Regions from separate parts of the Homo sapiens genome. Here region 2 is linked to region 1. Evidence: promoter capture Hi-C in 16 types of primary human blood cells and fetal thymus (Javierre and others, 2016). All regions are on one chromosome and are shown on one strand. The core of a region is centred on a gene start or on the middle of the fragment in contact, and the rest is flanking DNA. Distances in the headings are between cores, read along the strand shown. Region 1 holds the start of C11orf65 (chromosome 11 open reading frame 65). Region 2 has its middle 4.3 kb from the start of CWF19L2.

Region 1 (5,951 bases), core at 945-3,444:
TTATATGTTTATGAATACACAAAATATAGAGGAAATATATTCCAGCATTCAAAATTATCTGATTCAGAAATAAACAATGAAGTTCCACAATTTCAAGAAAGAACATATTCAATTGTGTCAAATATTGTTGCAAGGGCAAGTAAATACAGAGGAAAAAAAGGGAGATTTGGCCAGATAAAGTCACTAGTGACTGTACAGGCACTGCTTCAGTGGAGTAAGCAGGGAAGGAAGTTTGGGTTGGGTTGAGGAAGTGGGAAAGTTGAGACAGTAAGTACAGTAGTAATTCTTTGGAGTGCTGTAAGGGAGCAGAAAAATGGGGTGTAGCTAGAGAGTGAGAATGGATTAAAGGTTTTTTTTTAAAAAAAAAAGGCTGGGCGCGGTGGCTCACGCCTGTAATCCCAGCACTTTGGGAGGCCAAGGTGGGCGGATCATCTGAGGTTGGGAGTTTGAGACCAGCCTGACCAAAATGGAGAAATCCCGTCTCTACTAAAAATACAAAATTAGCTGGGTGTGGTGGCGCATGCCTGTAATCCCAGCTACTCAGGAAGGCTGAGGCAGGAGAATTGCTTGAACCTGGCAGGCGGAGGTTGCGGTGAGTCGAGATCATGCCACTACTCCAGCCTGGGCAACAAGAGTGAAACTCGGTCTAAAAAAAAAAAAAAACAACAACAACAACAAAAAACGACAGATTCTAAAGCATGTTAAAATGTACCATCCAGTAGTGAGGGAGAAATTAAAGTGACGGAGAACTTAAAGGGGCAAAAAAAGGGATAAGTTAAATGGTAAAACCTTTGAGTAGGTGTAAGAGGACACCATCTGGAGCAGAAAGGAGGGTGGGACCGTTGCTGGCTTTAGATAAGAAATAAGATCGACTTTATATGGTTATTATGATGCTCCAGATAAAATAACCATTGTGAAAACCCTTCATAAGTTTTAAGATACTAAAATGTACTACCAGGCCGGGTCTGGTGGCTCAGGCCTGTAATCCTAACATTTTGGGAGGCCAAGGTGGGCAGATCACCTTAAGTCAGGGGTTTGAGACCAGCCTGGCCAATATGGTGAAACCCTGTCTCTAGTAAAAATACAAAAATAAACTGGGTGTGGTGGCGCACACTTGCAGTCACAGCTACTCGGAAGGCTGAGGCAGGAGAATAACTTGAACCCAGGAGGCAGAGGTTGCAGTGAACTGAGATCACGCCACTGCACTCAGCCTGGGCAACACAGCGAGATGCCTTCTCAAAAACAAACAACAACAAAAAACTAACCAAATAAAATGTACTATCAAACAACTGCTCAGGCAATGAAGTATTTTACTACACCCATGTGCCACTTGTAGATTCACAGATAAGTATTTTCCAAGCTTATTATATCCCTAATCAATAAAATTTTTTATCATAATAGATGATGTTTTCACTTATTTATTTTTACGCTTCGTGGAAAAAAGCCCACAAGACGTGTTTGGATTCTTGGTTTCACTTTTAAAGCAGCAAACAATCTTTACTTTGCTTGAATTGGAACCTGTATACGTCCTATTTTGTTTCCTCTACTAAATTTATTGAATAAACAAATGATTCGCGTGGCCTTTATAAGTTTCGTAATTTCGCTTTTCCTTTTTACCTGTGGTCCTTGATGCTAGGGGCAGGAGAAGAAAAACTAACCTATTCTTTAAAAACGCGTTTCCCTTTTCCATCTCTAAAAAAACTGAAAAGACGTAAAACAAATGGGAGGGGGCAAAGGAAAGAAATGAGGAAAAATCTAAGGAAGATTAATGTGTACTTCCCGGTCAGCGGGAAGGTGGACGGAGTAATATCTTTGCGGAGGATTGGGGTGTGGGGATCTGTGAAGGCGCAGTATGAGCAGTAAGGACTTGTCAACCAGCCCGACGCAACTTCACCGAGGGCGAGGAAAGGAGCTCTGAGGAAGGGGTTACTCCCGGGCAGGACTGTAAACCAGCTGGAGGCCTCGCTGGGAGGGCTTTAGAGGAATGAAACGTCCTTAAGAGGGGCGGATGGGGAATGGTATCAAGGGTATGGGTTCTTTAGGGCCTTGAAACAACGAAGGCTCAAACCAGTGGGCACAAAGGCTACCGGAACAGTAGTACGCGCTGAGAGAAGGGACACTATTCCCTTCACCTACCAATCGCTGCTGGCCCGGGCGCCGCTGGACTCCTAGGTAACGTCGCAGGCGGAAATGACGTAACTCAATCCGTTCTGTCCCGCCCCATTGCCCTCCTAGCCCCGCCTTCTAGGCCCCGCCTTTCCTCTATTCGCGCTCTGACAAAGTGCAGGGGATATAGACCAACCGCTTGTGAAGGCTGCTGGTTCTGTTAGAAGCCCGCTTTCGATTGTCAGTGGCTTTGAGGCAAAGGATTTTGGAAGGGAAAGCAAAGTGATTGTCTACGAAGTTGGGCTTAGTATATAATAAAGCCCAGTCATTTCAACCAAGAACCTTAAAGATGTTGAGAAATATAATGAAATATTTTCTATTAATTTTTGTAAAATTTTTCTTGAGATAGGGTCTCAATCTGTGGCCGAGGCTGGAGTGCAGTGGCGCGATCTCGGCTCACTGCAGCCTGGAACTCCCCTGGCTCAGGTGATTCTCCCACGTCAGCCTCCCGAGTAGCTGGGACCGTAGGAGTGCACCACCACGCCAGGCTCATTTTTCTATTTTTATTAATAGTGGCGACAGGGTTTCTCCATGTTGTCCAGGCTGGTCTTGAACTCCTGGGCTCCAGCGATCCCCCCCTACCCCATCTCCCGCCTTGGCCTCCCAAAGTGCTAGGATTACAGGCGTGAACCACCGCGCCCGGCCTATTTAATTAGTTTAATTTATTCATTTGAAAATGAGACAACTGATCCTTCTAGCTATTTGACAGGTCTTGCTCAAGGTCAAAGAATACGTGACTTGCAGTCCAATGTTATTTCTAAATGTAAGCTCTTCAGCTGGTTAAGCTAAACTGCTTTAAGTGAAAACAGACGACCTCTTGAATGAGTTTTCAAATGACCTTAAATAATGCAAGCACTGCTTATCTAAAGCAAGTCTGACTTGCTTGAATTCTGAGTCTGACACTTTGGCAGTGCTTTAGTTGGTCACAGATTATTGCAATGTGAAAAAATCTTGTTCAGAACTGCCCAGTTTTGCTATGTTCGTCCTATGTTCATGCATGGAATATAATTTGTTTGTAAGGAAGATAAACTTTTAAGGAGGGAAAAGAAACACCTGAAGAGAAATTTCCCTGTATAATGAAAACATTTGTACAGAAAAAATTCTTGGTAGGTTAATTCAGTGACTCACTGAACTTCCAGAGTTCTTTAAAATCATCACAATCATAAGCAAGGGGTGAGCTTCAGTTCCTCTTTATGTAGTTGCCTTGATGCATTAATACACAGTAGTTATGAACAATAAACTGTAAAAATATAGTCATGGAAACATTATGTATATCTTAATTTTCAATCTAATAGAAACTGGGTTAAAAAATTTAAATTCAGGCCAGGTGTGGTGGCTCACACCTGTAATCCCAGCACTTTGGGAGGCTGAGGTGGGCGGATCACTTGAGGTCAGGAGTTCAAGACCAGCCTGGACAACATGGTGAAACCCCCTCTCTACTAAAAATACAAAAATTAGCCCAGCCTCCCAAGTAGCTGGGACTACAGGCGCCCTCCATGATACCCGGCTAATTTTTTGTATGTTTAGTAGAGACGGGGTTTTACTGTGTTAGCCAGGATGGTCTCAATCTCCTGGTGGCGCGCTGCCTGTAGTCCCAGCTACTCAGGAAGCTGAGGCAGGAGAATTGATAGAACCCGGGAGGCAGAGGTTGGTTGCAGTGAGCCGAGATAGCGCCATTGCACTTCAGCCTGGCAACACAGCAAGATTCCCTCTAAAAAAAAAAAAAAATTAAATTCAAAATTACACAACAATGTGAATGTACTTAAGTCCACTGAATTGTACAATTGAAACTAGTTAGAAGGATAAATTTATGTATATTTTACCACAATTTAAAAATTTTAAATTAAAAAACTGCAAAACTAAGCCAGTAAATAATTTAGAACAAAAATTCCTAAATGTACTGGATGAAATATAAAAATAAATTTAAGGTATACTGCTGTTTAGATATTATTTTTATTAGGTTGGTGCAAAAGTAATTGCGGTTTTTGTCATTAAACATACATAATTAAACATAATGGCAAAAACCGCGATTACTTTTGCATCAACCTAATAAACTGCATATTTTTAATGTAGTGCTTATCTGAATTATTTTAAAAAGTATTTACAATAGTTACTGTTGAGTACTTATGTTACCTCTAACCTGATCCACAAGAATTCAGCAATTTCTACATAACAGGCTAGAACATTTTCTTATTGCTCTAATACATGTAAAAATTGTTCAGTTCTTTAAAAGTATCTTTCTTTAAAGTAGCCACAAGGGATCATTAAGACTAGAAACTGTCAAGTGTTAGGTTTATTCATTTATATGTACCTGCTTAAATCTAGGAACAGTTTACTAAGACGCAGAACTCAGAAGAACTTCTGGGTGGTTTCACAGAAATCGTTCCTTCCTTCCTTCTCTCTTCCCCTCTCCACTTATTCTCTTCCTCTTCTTTTTCTCTCTTCTTTGTCTTACTACTATTATACAATATATCATATTATATTTATGAAATTAATATTCTTGCTTTCCACTTACAAGGCAAAGATTTTTCTTTATAAACCATGTGAAGACAAGAGATAAGGAAACAAAAATGAATTGGCATGAGGAAAGGGGAAATATCTGTAGTGCCGAGGGAGAAGAGTCACAATTACATGCCATTTTGCCTAGGGAGAAGAGTCACAATTATATGCCATTTCTTTCCTCTCTGCTTTGGCACTGGAGCAAACTCCAACAATAGGGGACTCCAAGGCTGTCTCCCGGATGTGAGCATGGAATCTTTTATAATTGTGGAAAATATGTCATGTAGTAGAAAACCACAATGTCACACATGAGGAGTGGGTGTGGGTCAAAGGCACAGGTCCTGCAGTGGTCCTAAAGGAGGCCAGAGGGACCTCCAACCAGGCATCAATCCTCTTGTTGAGGCTTAGCAGTTTGAAGAGGCTAGAGGAAGGGAGTTGGCACCTTTAGCTAATTCTTGGCTGAGAAATCTGTCCTCTTCACTACAGTGACTCTTGTTATGCCAGGGGACTGTTTGTCTTCTGTGTACCCTTGTTGTATTTTCTTTTTCTTTTTTTTTTTTTGTTTTTGAGATGGAGTCTCGCTCTGTTGCCCGGGCTGAAGTGCAGTGGCAGGATCTCAGCTCACTGCAAGCTCTGCCTCCTGGGTTCACGCCATTCTCCTGCCTCAGCCTCCCAAGTAGCTGGGACTACAGGCGCCCTCCATGATACCTGGCTAATTTTTTGTATTTTTAGTAGAGATGGGGTTTTACTGTGTTAGCCAGGATGGTCTCGATCTCCTGACCTTGTGATCCACCCACCTCGGCCTCCCAAAGTACTGGGATTACAGGCGTGAGCTACCATGCCTGGCCCCTTTTAGTATTTTCACCATCAACAAAAATAATGGTGCCAAGCTTAAATATTTTTTCTTTTCTTTTCTTTTTTTTTTTTTTGAGACTGTAACCACACAATGAGTTCTCCTTGTCTGCTGCCTAGACAGAGCCAATTTATCAAGACAGGGGAATTGCAATAGAGTTTAATTCTTGCAGAGTTGGCAGTATGGGAGACCGCAGTTTTATTTCTTGAATCAGTCTCCCTGAAATGTCAGGGATTGTGGTTTTTAAGGACAATTTGGTGGGTAGGGGATCAGAAAGTGGGGAGCTGCTGATTAGTTGGGTCAGAGATGAAATCAAAGGGAGTCGAAGCTGTCCTCCTATGCTAAGTCAGTTCCTGGGTCGGGGCCACAAGACCAGATAAGCCAGTTTATTGATCTGAGTGATGCTAGTGGAATCATCAAGTGCAGGGTCTGC
Region 2 (5,951 bases), core at 427-2,926, 1.0 Mb before region 1:
GCTGTCTAGTGAAGGTGTGTCCTGGTTCCTAGAGGGCAGTATTTTTGCTGTGTCTCATATGGCGGAAAGGGAGAGGGATCTCTCTAGAACTTCTTTTATAGGAATTCATGAGGGTGCTGCTCTCATGACCTAATCACCTCCCAGAGTCCCTACCTCCATATACCAGCACATTGGGGATTAGATTTCAACATAAGAATTTTGGGGAAACAAACATTCGGTCTAGAGCAATGTGCAAAGTTATATGAAGAAAACTTTAAAATCTTGCATAAGCTCCCCAAAAAGACTAGAACGAATGGAGAGGTATACTATGTGCTTAAAGAAGAAAACATCATAAAAAATCATTTCTCAATTAATTTGTAAATACCATGCAATACAAATAAAACTGCCCAAAAAAAAGTTGGGGTTAGAGAGGGGAACTAGATATGTTAAAATAGAAAAAAGAAAAGAAAAGAAAAGAAAGAAAAAGCAGGTTATTTTGGCTAGGTTTGCATTTGGCCACACCTAATGCGAATCCAGTCACATGGCTTAATCAAATAAAGGATAACGTAACAAGGAGCCTAAAAGTAACTGGTCCAGGCTTGGTGCAATTGCTGAAGGAGCCAAATAGTTTATCCTTTTTCGCTTTGTTGCAGTCTGTGACTTTAGTATTTGTAGTCACAAGCAGGGTATCATATTCTTTCACATCTGTTCACGGCATCTGATAAACAAGAATAAAGAGAAAGGACAAAGGGTAAACGTTGTTAGCTAAGCTGGCCTCATTTTTTATTAGAAAAATGATGGCTTTTCCTAAAGCCTAGTTCAGTTTCTTTCATTTAAATCCTATGATCCAGAAATAGGTCAGATGATCACAATTAACTACAAAAGTTTCATGAAGATTGCAGGATAGTTGTGTTATAGAATGTCACTCAACTTGGGTTTGTCGGAGGTTCTTTTGTGATTAAATTCAAATTTGGCCTCTTAAGCAGGACGATCACAGAAGTGAGGCGGTCTTACTGCATCCTGTTGGGTAGCGCATGATTTCCATTTGTTCCATTACAGGTGATGTTAATTCTGATCATTTAAATAAACTGGCATCTGCAGAGCTTCTCTGCTGTAAAGTACCTCTTTTCCTTCTATAATAAGTATTTTGTGAAGTGGTTCTTTGAAACTATGTAGATCATGTACCAAATTTTCAAGTTATTTATTTTTATATAATACAGATTCATAATTTCTCAGTGGATTCCTGTTTTTGTTCAGTGGGATAAAAATTCGTTATCAGTATTTATTTTGATCCTCAAATTGGTCCAGGTTAGGCCAGTGAGAGCCCTTTCAAGCTGGTTCCTGTGTCCTTTAGACATGTACCCACATTCTTTATATATATATATATATATATATATATATATATATATATATATATATATATATATATACTTTAAGTTCTGGGGTACATGTACAGAATGTGCAGGTTTGTTACATAGGTATACACGTGGTATGGAGGTATGCTGCACCCATCAACCCGTCATCTACATTAGGTATTTCTCCTAATGCTATCCCTCCCCCAGCCCCTCACCCCCCAACAGGCCCTGGTGTGTGATGTTCCCTCTCTGTGTCCATGTGTTCTCATTGTTCAACTCCCACTTATGAGTACATGCGGTGTTTGGTTTTCTGTTCTTGTGTTAGTTTGCTGAGAATGATGGTTTCCAGCTTCATCCATGTCCCTGCAAAGGACATAAACTCATCCTTTTTATGGCTGCATAGTATTCCATGGTGTATATGTAACACATTTTCTTAAACCAGTCTATCATTGATGGGCATTCGGGTTGGTTCCAAGTCTTTGCTATTGTGAACAGTGCAGAGATAAACGTACGTGTGCATGTCTTTATAGTAGAATGATTTATAATCCTTTGGGTATATACCCAGTAATGGGATTGCTGGGACAAATGTTATTTCTGGTTCTAGATCCTTGAGGAATCACCACACTGTCTTCCACAATGGTTGAACTAGTTTACACTCCCACCAACAGTGTAAAAGCATTCCTATTTCTCTACATCCTCTCCAGCATCTGTTGTCTCCTGGCTTTTTAATGATCGCCATTCTAATTGGCATGAGATGGTATCTCATTGTGGTTTGATTGGCATTTCTCTAATGACCAGTGAAGATGAGCTTTTTTTCATATGTTTATTGGCTGCATAAATGTCTTCTTTTGAAAAGTGTCTGTTCATACCCTTAGCCCACTTTCTGATGGGGTTGTTTTTTTCTTGTAAATTTGTTGAAGTTCTTTGTAGATTCTGGATATTAGCCCTTTGTCAGATGAACAGATTGCAAAAATTTTCTCCCATTCTGTAGGTTGCCTGTTCACTGATGATAGTTTCTTTTGCTGTGCATAAGCTCTTTAGTTTAATTAGATCCCATTTGCCAATTTCGGCTTTTGTTGCCATTGCTTTTGGTGTTTTAGTCATGAAGTGTTTGCCCAAGCCTATGTCCTGAATGGTATTGCCTAGGTTTTCTTCTAGGGTTTTTATGGTTTTAGGTCTTACATTTAAGTCTTTAATCCATCTTGAGTTAATTTTTGTATAAGGTGTAAGGAAGGGGTCCAGTTTCAGTGTTCTGCATATGCCTAGCCAGTTTTCCCAACACCATTTATTAAATAGGGAATCCTTTCTCCATTTCTTGATTTTGTCAGGTTTGTCAAAGATCAGATGGTTGTGGATGTGTGGTGTTATTTCTGAGGCCTCTGTTCTGTTCCATTGGTCTATATATCTGTTTTGGTACTAGCACCATGTTGTTTTGGTTACTGTAGCCTTGTAGTATAGTTTGAAGTCAGGTAATGTGATGCCTCCAGCTTTGTTCTTTTTGCTTAGGATTGTCTTGGCTATGCAGGCTCTTTTTTTGTTCCATATGAAATTTAAAGTAGTTTTTTCTAATTCTGTGAAGAAAGTCAATGGTAACTTGATGGGGATAGCATTGCACCTATAAATTACTTTGGACAGTATGGTCATTTTTACAGTATTGATTCTTCCTATCCATGAGCATGGAATGTTTTTCCATTTGTTTGTGTCCTCTCTTATTTCCTTGAGCAGTGGTTTGTAGTTCTCCTTGAAGAGTTCCTTCACATCTCTTATAAGTTGTATTCCTAGGTATTTTATTCTCTTTGTAGCAATTGTGAATGGGAGTTCACTCATGATTTGGCTCTCTGTTTGTCTGTTATTGGTGTATAGGAATGCTTGTGATTTTTGCACATTGATTTTGTATCCTGAGACTTTGCTGAAGTTGCTTATCAGCTTAAGGAGATTTTGGGCTGAGACGGTGGGGTTTTCTAAATATACAATCATGTCATCTGCTAACAGAGACAATTTGACTTCCTCTCTTGCTATTAGAATACCCTTTATTTCTTTCTCTTGCCTGATTACCCTGGTCAGAACTTCCAATATTCAATGTTGAATAGGAGTGGTGAGAGAGGGCATCCCTGTCTTGTGCCGGTTTTCAAAGGGAATGCCTCCAGTTTTTGCCCATTCAGTATGATATTTGCTGTGGGTTTGTCATAAATAGCTCTTATTATTTTGAGATACATTCGATCAATACCTAGTTTATTAAAGAGTTTTTAGCATGAAGGGGTGTTTAATTTTATTGAAGGCCTTTTCTGCATCTATTGAGATGATCATGTGGTTTTTGTCATTGGATCTTTTTAAGTGATGGTTTACATTTATTGATTTGCATATGTTGAACCAGCCTTGCATCCCAGGGATGAAGCCGACTTGATCATGGTGGATAAGCTTTTTGATGTGCTGCTGGATTCGGCTTGCCAGTATTTTATTGAGGATTTTCACATCAATGTCCATCAGGGATACTGGCCTGAAATTTTTTGTTGTTGTTGTTGTGTCTCTGCCAGGTTTTGGTATCAGGATGATGCTGACCTCACAAAATGAGTTAGGGAGGAGTCCCTCTTTTTCTATTGATTGAAATAGTTTCAGAAGGAATGGGACCAGCTCCTCTTTGTACCTCTGGTAGAATTCGGCTGTGTATCCTTCTGGTCCTGGACTTTTTTTTGTTGGTAGGCTATTAATTACTACCTCAATTTTAGAACTTGTTATTGATCTATTCAGGGATTCGACTTCTTCCTGCTTTAGAATTGAGAGGGTATATGTGTCCAGAAATTTATCCATTTCTTCTAGATTTTCTAGTTTATTTGCATAAAGGTGTTTATAGTATTCTCTGATGGTAGTTTGTATTTCTGTGGGATCAGTGTTGATATCCCCTTTATCAATTTTATTGCACCTATTTGATTCTTCTCTGTTTTCTTCTTTATAGTCTGGCTAGTGGTCTATTTTGTTGATCTTTAAAAAAAACAGCTCCTGGATTCATTGATTTTTTGAAGGGTTTTTCATGTCTCTATCTCCTTCAGTTCTGCTCTGATCTTAGTTATTTCTTGTCTTCTGCTAGCTTTTGAATTTGTTTGCGCTTGCTTCTCTAGTTCTTTTAATTGTGATGTTAGGGGGTCAATTTTAGATCTTTCCTACTTTCTCTTGTAGTCATTTAGTGCTATAAATTTCCCTCAAAGCACTGCTTTAGCTGTGTCCCAGAGATTCTGATACGTTGTGTGTTTGTTCTCATTGGCTTCAAAGAACTTATTTATTTCTGCCTAATTTCATTATTTACCCAGTAGTCATTTAAGAGCAGGTTGTTCAGTTTCCATGTAGTTGTGCAGTTTTGATTGAGTTTCTTCATCCAGAGTTCTAATTTGATTGCACTGTGGTCTGAGAGACTGTTATGATTTCCATTCTTTTGCATTTGCTGAGTAGTGTTTTACTTCCAATAATGTGGTCAATTTTAGAATAAGTGTGATGTGGTACTGAGAAGAATGTACATTCTGTTGATTTGGGGTGGAGAGTTCTGTAGATGTCTATTAGATCTGCTTGGTCCATAGCTGAGTTCAAGTCCTGGATATCCTTGTTAATTTTCTGTCTTGTTGATCTGTCTAAAATTGACAGTAGGGAGTTAAATTATCCCACTATTATTGTGTGGGAGTCTAAGTTTCTTTGTAGGTCTTCAAGAACTTGCTTTATGAATCTGGGTGCTCCTGTATTGGGTGTATATATATTTAGGATAGTTAGCTCTTCTTGTTGCATTGATCCCTTTACCATTATGTAATGCCCTTCTTTGTCTCTTTTGATCTTTGTTAGTTTAAAGACTGTTTTATCAGAGACTAGGATTGCAACCCCTGCTTTTTTTTTACTTTACATTTGCTTGGTAAATATTCCTTCATCCCTTTATTTGGAGCCTATGTGTGTCTTTGCACATGAGATGGGTCTCCTGAATACAGCACACCGATGGGCCTTGACTCTTTATCCAATTTGCCAGTCTGTATCTTTTAGTTGGGACATTTAGCCTGTTTACTTTTAAGGTTAATATTGTTATATATGAATTTCACCCTGTCATTATGATGCTAGCTGGTTATTTTGCCCATTAGTTAATGCAGTTTCTTCATAGTGTCAATGGTCTTTACAATTTGGTATGTCTTTGCAGTGGCTGGTACCAGTTGTTTCTTTCCATGTTTAGTGCTTCCTTTAGGAGCTCTTGTAAGGCAGGCCTGGTGGCGATAAAATCGCTCAGCATTTGCTTGTCTGTAAAGGATTTTATTTCTCCTTCACTTATGAAGCTTAGTTTGGCTGGATATGAAATATCAGGTTGAAAATTCTTTTCTTTAAGAATGTTGAATATTGGCCCCCACTCTCTTCTGGCTTGTAGGGTTTCTGCAGAGAGATCTGCTGTTAGTCTGATGGGCTTCCCTTTGTGGGTAACCCGACCTTTCTCTCTGGCTGCCTTTAATATTTTTTCCTTTATTTCAATCTGATAATTATATGAATCTGATGATTATGAGTCTCATGATTATGTGTCTTGTGGTTGCTCTTTTTGGGGAGTATCTTTGTGGTGTTCTCTGTATTTCCTGAATTTGAATGTTGGCCTGTCTTGCT

What was found. Contacts are between HindIII fragments. The CHiCAGO score rates a contact against its expected background, and 5 or more counts as called.
Region 2: a fragment that was not itself captured here is called in contact with the fragment with the promoter of C11orf65 in region 1 in 2 of 17 cell types (non-activated CD4 T cells and total CD8 T cells); the score reaches 7.7 in non-activated CD4 T cells.

The regions. Positions count from the first base shown.
Region 1 is chr11:108,465,335-108,471,285 of GRCh38, forward strand. C11orf65 (chromosome 11 open reading frame 65) reads right to left here and starts at 2,195. Exons shown (of 9, transcript NM_152587.5): 1 at 2,137-2,195. RefSeq lists a silencer at 88-382, enhancers at 1,414-2,266, 2,207-2,351 and a cis regulatory region at 2,279. The HindIII fragment of the contact is 4,195 bases long and covers 1,359-5,553 here.
Region 2 is chr11:107,459,135-107,465,085 of GRCh38, forward strand. No RefSeq gene overlaps it. Among named protein-coding and RNA genes, the nearest start is that of CWF19L2, 4.3 kb to the left of the region's middle. The HindIII fragment of the contact is 4,148 bases long and covers 1-3,750 here.